Regions from separate parts of the Homo sapiens genome. Here region 1 is linked to region 2. The links are contacts of gene promoters, found by promoter capture Hi-C in human tissues and cell types (Jung and others, 2019). All regions are on one chromosome and are shown on one strand. The core of a region is centred on a gene start or on the middle of the fragment in contact, and the rest is flanking DNA. Distances in the headings are between cores, read along the strand shown.

Region 1 (4,489 bases), core at 100-2,599, 240 kb after region 2:
GATGGGTCTCCTGAATAAAGCACAGTAATGGGTTTTGACTCTTTACCCAATTTGCCAGTCTGTGTCTTTTAATTGGGGTATTTAGCCCATTTATATTTAGGTTAATATTGTTAATGTGTGAATTTGATCCTGTCTTTATGATGTTAGCTGGTTATTTTGCCCATTAATTGATGGAGTTTCTTCCTAGCATTGATGGTCTTTACAATTTGGCATGTTTTTACAGTGGCTGATACCAGTTGTTCCTTTCCATGTTTAGTGCTCCCTTCAGGAGCTCTTGTAAGGCAGGCCTGGTAGTGACAAAATCTCAGCATTTGCTTGTCTGTAAAGGATTTTATTTCTCCTTCCCTTATGAAGCTTGGTTTGTCTGGATATGAAATTCTGGGTTGAAAATTCTTTTCTTTGAGAATGTTGAATATTGGCCCCCACTCTCTTCTGGTTTGTAGGGTTTCTTCCAAGAGATCTGCTGTTAGTCTGATGGGCTTCCCTTTGTGGGCAACCCAACCTTTTGTGCTGGCTGCCCTTAACATTTTTTCCTTTATTTCAACCTTGGTGAATCTGACAATTATGTGTCTTGGGGTTGCTCTTCTCGAGGAATCTCTTTGTGGTGTTTTCTGTATTTCCTGAATTTGAATGTTAGCCTGTCTTGCTAGGTTGGGGAAGTTCTCCTGGATCATATCCTGAAGTGTGTTTTCCAACTTGTTTCCATTCTCCCCGTCACTTTCAGGTACACCAATCAAACGTAGATTTGGTCTTTTCACATAGTCCCATATTTCTTGGAGGCTTTGTTTGTTTCTTTTTACTCTTTTTTTCTCTAACCTTGTCTTCTTGCTTTATTTCATTAATTTGATCTTCAATCACTGATACTCTTCCACTTGACCAAATTGGCTACTGAAGCTTGTGCATGCATCATGAAGTTCTCGTGCCATGGTTTTCAGCTCCATCTGGTCATTTAAGGTCTTCTCTACACTGTTTATTCTAGTTAGACATTCGTCTAACCCTTTTTCAAGATTTTTAGCTTCCTTGCAATGCATTAGAACATGCTCCTTTAGCTCGGAGAAGTTTGTTATTACCGACCTTCTGAAGCTTACTTCTGTTAACTTGTCAAAATCATTCTCCATCCATCTTTGTTCCATTGCTGGTGAGGAGCTGTGATCCATTGGAGGAAAAGAGGTGCTCTGGTTTTTAGAATTTTCAGCTTTTCTGCTCTGGTTTCTCCCCATCTTTGTGGTTTTATCTACCTTTGGTCATTGATGTTGGTGACCTACAGATGGGATTTTGGTGTGGATGTCCTTTTTGTTGATGTTGATGCGATTCCTTTCTGTTTGTTAGTTTTCCTTCTAAGAGTCAGGTTCCTCAGCTGTAGGTCCGTTGGAGTTTGCTGGAGGTCCACTCCAGACGCTGTTTGCCTGTTCATCACCAATGGAGGCTGCAGAACAGCAAATATTGCAGCACAGCGAATATTACTGCCTGATCCTTCCTCTAGAAGCTTCATCCCAGAGTGGCACCCCCTGTATGAAGTGTCTGTTGGCCCCTACTGGGAAGCGTCTCCCAGTTAGGCTACACGGGGTCAGGGACCCACTTGAGGAGGCAGTCTGTCCTTTCTCAGAGCTCAAACGCTATGCTGGGAGAACCACTGCTCTCTTCAGAGCTGTCAGACAGGGATGTTGAAGTCTGTAGAAGTTGTCTGCTGCCTTTTGTTCAGCTGTGCCCTGCCCACGGATGTGGAGTCTGTAGAGGCAGTAGTCCTTGCTGAGCTGCGGTGGGCTCCTCCCACTTCGCGCTTCCTGGCCACTTTATTTACCTACTCAAGCCTCAGCAATGGCCGACACCCCTCCCCCAGCCAGGCTGCTGCCTCACAGTTCTAGCTCAGACTGCTGCGCTAGCAGTGAGCAAGGCTCCATGGGCATGGGACCCGCCGAGCCAGGCAGGTGAGAGAATCTCCTTGTCTGCCGGTTGCTAAGACCTTGAGAAAAGCACAGTATTTTGGGCGGGAGTGTCCCATTTTTTTCAGGTACAGTGTGTCATGGCTTCCCTTGGCTAGGAAAGGGAAATCCCCCAACCCCTTGCACTTCCTGTGTGAGGCAACACCCCGCCCTACTTCATCTCGCCCTCTGTGGGCTGCACCCACTGTCCAACCAGTCCCAGTGAGATGAACCAGGTACCTCAGTTGGAAATGCAGAAATCACCTGTGTTCTGCATCGATCACGCTGCGAGCTGCAGAGCGGAGCTGTTCCTATTTGGCTGTCTTGGAACGGGGGGAGAGTTAAGCATAGATTTCCTCTGATTTTGGCCATATAACTTGTTTAGACAATGCTTTATATTCAAGGTTTGAGAACTAGCATTACAAATTAAATTCGTGCACACTGCTAAATGTAGAGCAGGTTTTATTTATTTATTTATTTTTTATGTTTAATGGCAACGTCCATGTAATTCAGTCTCTAGCCAGTATTACATGTTGTGCATCCCAGTGAAACTTACTTACCATCTTTTCTGAATATTTTGTCAAATATTGCTTCATATGGTTTGTGGATTCCAAGACTAAGAAACTTCCAAGTGTGGGTTTTGATTTCTACTTTATTAGGATCTCTGAGTCTGGGTGAGGGCTGCTGAGACAGTTTTGATGCCCAGAGGTAGAGTGGAGACTCATGTTCTCCACTGTTCCCATCAGTTCCCTACAATTCATGTTAGTTAGGAGAGCCCTGGGCTAGGCACATTATAGAGATTAATGCCTGGGATTATTGTGTGGGAGAAAAAAAGTCATGAGATAACTTCAACAACAATTGTGTTAGGGATTTGAGAAGAGAGATTCCTTTCCTTTCCATCTCAAATCCTGTGGAGAGTGGTATACTTGATGCCTGGGATTTTTCCAGTCTTGAAGCAGCTGGGAGGCCATGGGTTTAGTGTGGCCAGAAACAGCTGGCTGAGTGCAGTGCTGGAGACCAGGCATATATAACTTGTCCAGAAGTGTCTTCTAGGAAACCCCCTTTGGGGAATAAGTAACTGACAGGGAGCTTAAGCATTTGACGCAGTTTTCAGGGAGGATTTCTTTCATTTTTCTTCCCCAGCATTTTTATTGAGAAAATTTAAAATTCACAGTAAAGTTGAAATAATTTTGCAGTGAACTCCTGTTCAATCCTGCTCATTCTCCGTTCACTCCCGTACACTCCTGTGTACCCTCCAGTTAATATTGCCACATTTACTGTACCTGTATTTTTCCACCCCTCTATTCATCAACCAAACCCAACTTCTTTTCTGATGCATTTCAAAGTAAATCATAGATATCAGTAAACTTCACCTCTTGACACTACACTGCATATCTTTAACTATTTTTTACTTTTGTGTGTTTTAAAATTTACAGTGAATTACAAAAATCTTAGTTGTATGATTGTACAGATTGTGACAAGTGCAGCACCTGTGTAACCCTCACTCCTGTCAAGATGCAGACCTTATTGCCACCCTAGAAAGTCTTAGCCTCTTCCCAGCACACGCCCAACCCACACTTCCGACAGGGCACCCCATGCTCTGATTTTTCCCCACTGTAGATTAGTTTTGATTGTTCTAGAATTCATTAAATGCAATCATATATTTTGTATAACAAAGTGAAAGTTTTTGAGATTCATCTATGTTGTATCCATCCGTAGGTTTTTGTTTTTGTTTTAAATTATTGAGTAGTATTTCATTGTAGGCATATAAAACTGTACATCCACGCTCCTATTAAAGGATACCTGGGGTCTTTCAGCTTATGGTTGTTATTGTTTTAAAAAGCTGCTGTGAACTCTCATACAAGTATTTTGGTGGACATGTGTTTTCATTTCTCTTAGGTAAATTTTAATGGTATTGCTGGGTCAAAGATTATGGGTTTGTTTAGTTTTATAAGGGACCGCCAGAATTCTTTTACTTTCAGCTGTTGTGGATTTTTTGGGCTGTGGTTTTTCAAGACTGTGGGTTTTCTATCTGAGTTTTACCTGCCCAGCATGGCACGGGCAGGAGCTTGCCCTCAGGATTGAAGCTGTAAAGATGGGAAACTCACCAATACCATTCATTCTTTCAAATGGCAGCCATCTTCCAGTTTTTATTGGCTTTAGGTAACTATCCAGTGGCTTTTAATACTTGTTTTTTGTTGTTGTTGTTATTTGTTTGTTTTGTGATGGAGTCTCTCTCTGTTGCCCAGGCTGGAGTGCAGCGGTGTGATCTTGTCTTGGCGCACTGCAGTCTCTGCCTCCCAGGTTCAAGCAATTCTCATGCGTCAGCCTCCTGAGTAGCTGGGACTACCGGTGCATGCCATCATGTCTGGATAGTTTTTTTGTATTTTTAGTAGAGATGGGGTTTCACCATCTTGACCAGGCTGGTCTCAAACTCCTAGCTTCAAGTGATCCACCTGCCTCGGCCTCCCAAAGTGCTGGGATTACAGGCATGAGCCACCATGCCCGGCCTTTTAATACTTGTTTTTTATATTTTATCTAGAGTTTACAGTTTTAATCTGTAGGAG
Region 2 (4,722 bases), core at 2,146-4,645:
CTTGCTATCCTTGTGAAACGCTCACCACCTCTTCATTAAATTACCCACTCTGCTGTTTAGGATTAGTGTGACAATCATCTCAGTTTGCCCATGACAGCCCTGTTTCATGCTTGTTGTCCTAGCATAACTATTAAAATCATGGCTTTTTCTTTTCAAAAATATCCCAGTTTGGATACTTTGCTATATAGTCACTGTAAATAAGACCAAGTAGCAATTTGGCTTCAGCCACTCAATCTGTTTTAAGTCATCCTATTCCTTTGATTCAGTTGAACTTGATCAGATCTTTGTCTTTTCTTTTCCAACCCGTGTCTGATATTCAACATTTGGAGTTCTTCTTGTGGCATACATATTCTTACCATCTTCTTCCCTTTTATTGGTCACCTCACATTTCTCCCCTTCCAGGAACTCTTCTGGATTTTAACTAGTGGTGCTGAAGGTTTAAGAACCCACTTACCTGCTCAGAGCATCTCTGCTAGTAGAATTTTTCTTCCAGGGATTGCTTCAAGTTAAATGTATACTCCCTCTCCAAATAGCATAGATTCATCCTGTGACACTTCGGTTGTTGTTTCTTCAGAGTAGAAGCTCTCTGCCAGGCATGAGTTTATGTTTTCTGTCCTTTTGTACATGCTATGGTAAGTGGGGTATGGATGAGGATGGATAAAACAATTAACATGGTGTGAGGCTGGGCATGGTGGTGCGTGCCTGTAATCCCTGCACTGTGGGAGGCCGAGGCAGATCACTTGAGCCCAGAAGTCCAAGACCCCCCATCTCTACAAAAAATAATAAAGTTAGCCCAGCATGGTGGCATGCACCTGTGGTCCCAGCAACTCAGGAGGCTGAGGTGGGAGGATTGCTTGAGCCCAGGAAGTAGAGATTTCAGTTAGCTCTCTTTGTGCCACTGCACTCTGGCCTCAGTGAAAGAGTGAGACCCTGTTTCAAAAACAAAAACAAACAAACAAAAATAGTGTGATGATGGTAAAATAAATAAATTCTTCATGGTGTATTTGCAGTGGTCCCCTTTGCACACCAGCTAAGAAGGAAGCATCCTTTGCCAGTTTGACCAGCTATCTCCTGGCCGTGGTTGTACAGATTGAGTGAAAGTGGTGAAGAGAGTGATGAAACAGAAAGCAACCCCAATATCTATCTGAGAAAGGATGAGACAGAGGAATAAAGAGCCAAGGAAACTTGGTGTGGAGAAATAGGTGGGGTTGTACTGAGGTACTGGAGGACTCCAGTAACCAGCCCTCACACCGCATTCCATGTGCATGGTGTTCCTGCCTCTTCATGTTCTACCGCATGCAATGTGGGCGGGGCTCCCCGGAGGTATACAGTTTGTCAGCCTTGTGCGGTAGGGAGAAGACACGTCTGGTGTTCACAATGAGGGGTTTGATTGAAGGGCACAGCTGCTATGCAGAGAAATACTATGGGGAGACAATGTGTAAAAGATTTTCTGGGAAGTCTGTCATTTATTCAACAAATAATATATATTTTGTCCTCTGCTCTATGCCAGGCACTGTTATAAATTCTGGGGATATAGCAGGGATGGATATAGCATTTGCATGCATATAGATAGAGCACCTGGCATGGCTTACCTTTTAGTGAATGGAGACAGATAATAAGCAAATATACTGTATAGCCATTTAAGTGATGACAAGTGTAATGGAAAAAATAATAGAGCAGCTCTGGAAAGCTGGAGTTGGAGAATGGTCATTGCAAATTTAAAAATGAGCAGTCAAGGTAGGCTTCAGAGAGAGACGACATTTGAGCAAAAACTTGAAGGAGATAAGGGAGGAACCAGGTAAACATCTGGTAGAAAGCCTTCCAAGTGGAGGGGACAGGCTTTGCAGAACTCCTGAAGTTGATGTGTGTCTGGTGTGTTCAGAAATAGAGCCAGTGTGGCTGAAGGTAGTAGGGGGAGCAGGAAATGAGGTGTGAGATTTAGGGGAGCAGGCAGATGACGTAGGGCTTTGAGGTCATTAAACTTTGAGAGAAATGGGAGCTGGTTAGAGGCTTCCCAGCAGAGGCTTTTAATTGCATCACCGCCTAATGCATCTTGATGGATATCATGAATATAATTATCTCAAGGGATATTCAGTATTTGTGTTTCTTTTGATGTGAAACAGTGTAATACTTTGTACAGTATATATTCATTCATGTTACAGTAGGCTCTGCTTATAACTGTCCACAAAGAGGTATTTGTTGAATGAATGAATGAATGAACAAATGGGGTTGACCTTTTCGCTCCCTCCATGCGGGTTCTCAACCTATTATTTCAACTTTATTGCCCCTACACCCTTTCTCAACTTGGGTTCTATTCACCCGTCTTGTTGAGTACTAATTAGGAAAAAAAAAAAGGCAGGCTAGTGGGAGCAGGGAAAAACAAAGAGATAAGGCAAATTAGCTATACGTCTGTCTTTCTTCATGGTCCAAAACATATAAACAAAAGGAAGAAACAAATAAGCCATAGGTCTACTTTTCTTTATGGCCCAGGACATATGGCCCTTCTACCCAGATAACGTACTTAACTCACAAACTTCCTGCTTACCTTCAAATGCCTCAATTTCTGAAACACTTCAGCTGACAAAAAAAAAAAAAAAAAAAGAAAGAAAGAAAAAAAAAAAGCAAGTTAACTCCCTGCTACCTGGTGTTATCAATCACTCCAAGTTCCAGTCTATAAAATTCTCAACAAGCCTTTGTTTCCTAGCAATGAGCTCCTCCTCTGCTGAGTCGGCCCGCTGCTCCCTGGCAACGAACTTTCATACTTTCTTTAATCTGTCTTTCTTTATCTACCACTGTCTTGGTAAATTCTTTTACTCCCACACTGAGAAAGTCGTCACTCACTGGCGACACGTTGAAAGAGTTCTTTCAACTCTGTATTTCTGCCTCTGTCTCTGCTCATTCCATTTCCCGCTACTTGAAATGCTTCTCCAGTAGATTAAAATTCTGCCTATTGTTAAAGACGCAGGGACAAGCTCCACGTCCTCCAGGAAATCCCTGCAGACTCTGGCCTTCGTTGCCTTTTCTGAGCTCCTGTAGCATCCTTCCTCTGCTACCTTTCATTGGATAACTTTAGTTGTTTATTTTAAAACCACTGTTTGAACTCTCTCTACGTGTTAGGCAAAGAATATACAAATGAACATTAGCATTTCAGTGGGGTACCTTTACCATTTCTGTTTTATGGAAACTGAGTTATAAGAGAGGCTCAATGACTTGGCCGATCTCATGTAGATTAATGAACAAGGAGTGTATCAGGACCGGGACACAAGTCGTTCCCAAGACAAGCAATAGTCCCTGTCCTTCCTACTCATAAAAGGGTTAACCTAGCATTTCCTTGCCGTGAAACAAAAGCGGCCGCGGATAGAGAAGCTTGTCCTGTGAGGGATTCCGTAGAGACACTCCTCCGCTGCCTGAGTCCTCGGCGAACATGGCGGCCCCCGAGTCAGGGCCGGCTTTGAGTCCAGGCACTGCAGAGGGTGAGGAGGAGACGATTCTCTATGACTTGTTGGTCAACACCGAGTGGCCACCGGAGACTGAAGTACAGGTGAACCAGGCCCATCTACAGCAGCAGCCAGCTTGGCGCGGGCGCTTCGTGGGTAGAGCCACGTAGCAGGAGCCACGTAGGGGAGTGGAGACGGGTGGGTGGGGGACTAGGGCCGGTTGGCTTGTGCGGTCGCCTTGGCAACGGCACCTTGGGCTAGCGGGGGTCTAGGGCGGGGTGGGGTGGTGGTCCCTGAGATTCTTCCTGGGCTCAGAATTCGGTTGTTGGGGGCTGGAACTTCGTGCTCTGGGGAGCGTACGATCCCACTTTGGTTCTCAGTTTCGCTCTCTGTATTGGGAGGAGAGGGGATTGTTAGTGTCGCTCTCTGTATTAGGAGGGGAAGGCACAGCGCTGGACTCGAGGGTCCTTTCTCCTATCTGGACCCTCAGTGGTCCCTTCTCGCGGTCTGGCTAGGGCTAGTCTGGGCCGACGCTCAACTGCGATGGGAGAATTTTCCAGGACCTTACAGTCTGCAGCATCTGCCAGGCTGGTGCAGAGCGCAGAATCTGAGCCTTTACCCATACTGGGGGCTGGATCGCGCCAGGTCTTGTGTGTTTCAATAAAAGAGCATTTAATAAGGGTGTGCGTGTCCGTTCGTCTGTCTCGGTGTCACAGGTGCTGTGCTAGGTGCTAAGGATACAGAGATGAATATGTTTTCGTGGAGCTTCTCGTCTAGAGGGGAGACAGTCCCGTAAACGTTTTTCATAACCTAGCGTTTTATGCGCTATAGTTAGCGATGTGAGCAAAATGCCACGGAAGTGCAGAGTAAAGAGCTGCTGACTGGGATTGGGATCTCCGCTACAGAAGGGTTATAGAGGTTGATAATTTATGGACTGGATCTTGGGATTATCAGTTGTTTGGTAGTGAAGGCCTCCCGGGTCTGTGATGAAGAGTAGGAACCATGGATCCATGTTTATTTTATTTTATTTTTTATTATTATTATTTTTTGGATCCATGTTTATTTAACAGATATTTATTGAGTGCTTAACACGTGCCAGTTACTGTTTTAGACCCAGAGGAAGCAGCCAGATCGAAAAGAACCTTTATTAAAGATTATGTAGTCCAGCCCATGTGAGTTATCTTACATTTTTTCTGAGTGTTTCTTTGCTGGAGAAACGACTCATTTTTCAGCCCAAAGTTTGTATTTTTTTCCTCTGTAGCCTCCTTCCCACTGCAGTTTGTGC

Evidence for each region. Contacts are between HindIII fragments. The study calls those that stand out against the background at their distance.
Region 1: a fragment that was not itself captured here is called in contact with the fragment with the promoter of NBAS in region 2 in 1 of the 25 tissues and cell types used here (hippocampus).

What each region holds. Positions count from the first base shown.
Region 1 is chr2:15,314,016-15,318,504 of GRCh38, reverse strand. The region is part of intron 38 of NBAS (NBAS subunit of NRZ tethering complex); the gene reads left to right. Among named protein-coding and RNA genes, the nearest start is that of NBAS, 250 kb to the left of the region's middle. The HindIII fragment of the contact is 3,878 bases long and covers 1-3,288 here.
Region 2 is chr2:15,560,007-15,564,728 of GRCh38, reverse strand. It overlaps NBAS (NBAS subunit of NRZ tethering complex), which reads left to right and starts at 3,395. Exons shown (of 52, transcript NM_015909.4): 1 at 3,395-3,541. The coding sequence starts at 3,425. LOC105373440 (a long non-coding RNA gene) reads right to left here and starts at 2,581. Exons shown (of 4, transcript XR_001739297.2): 1 at 2,546-2,581; 2 at 455-627. RefSeq lists an enhancer at 3,196-3,605. The HindIII fragment of the contact is 7,047 bases long and covers 1,184-4,722 here.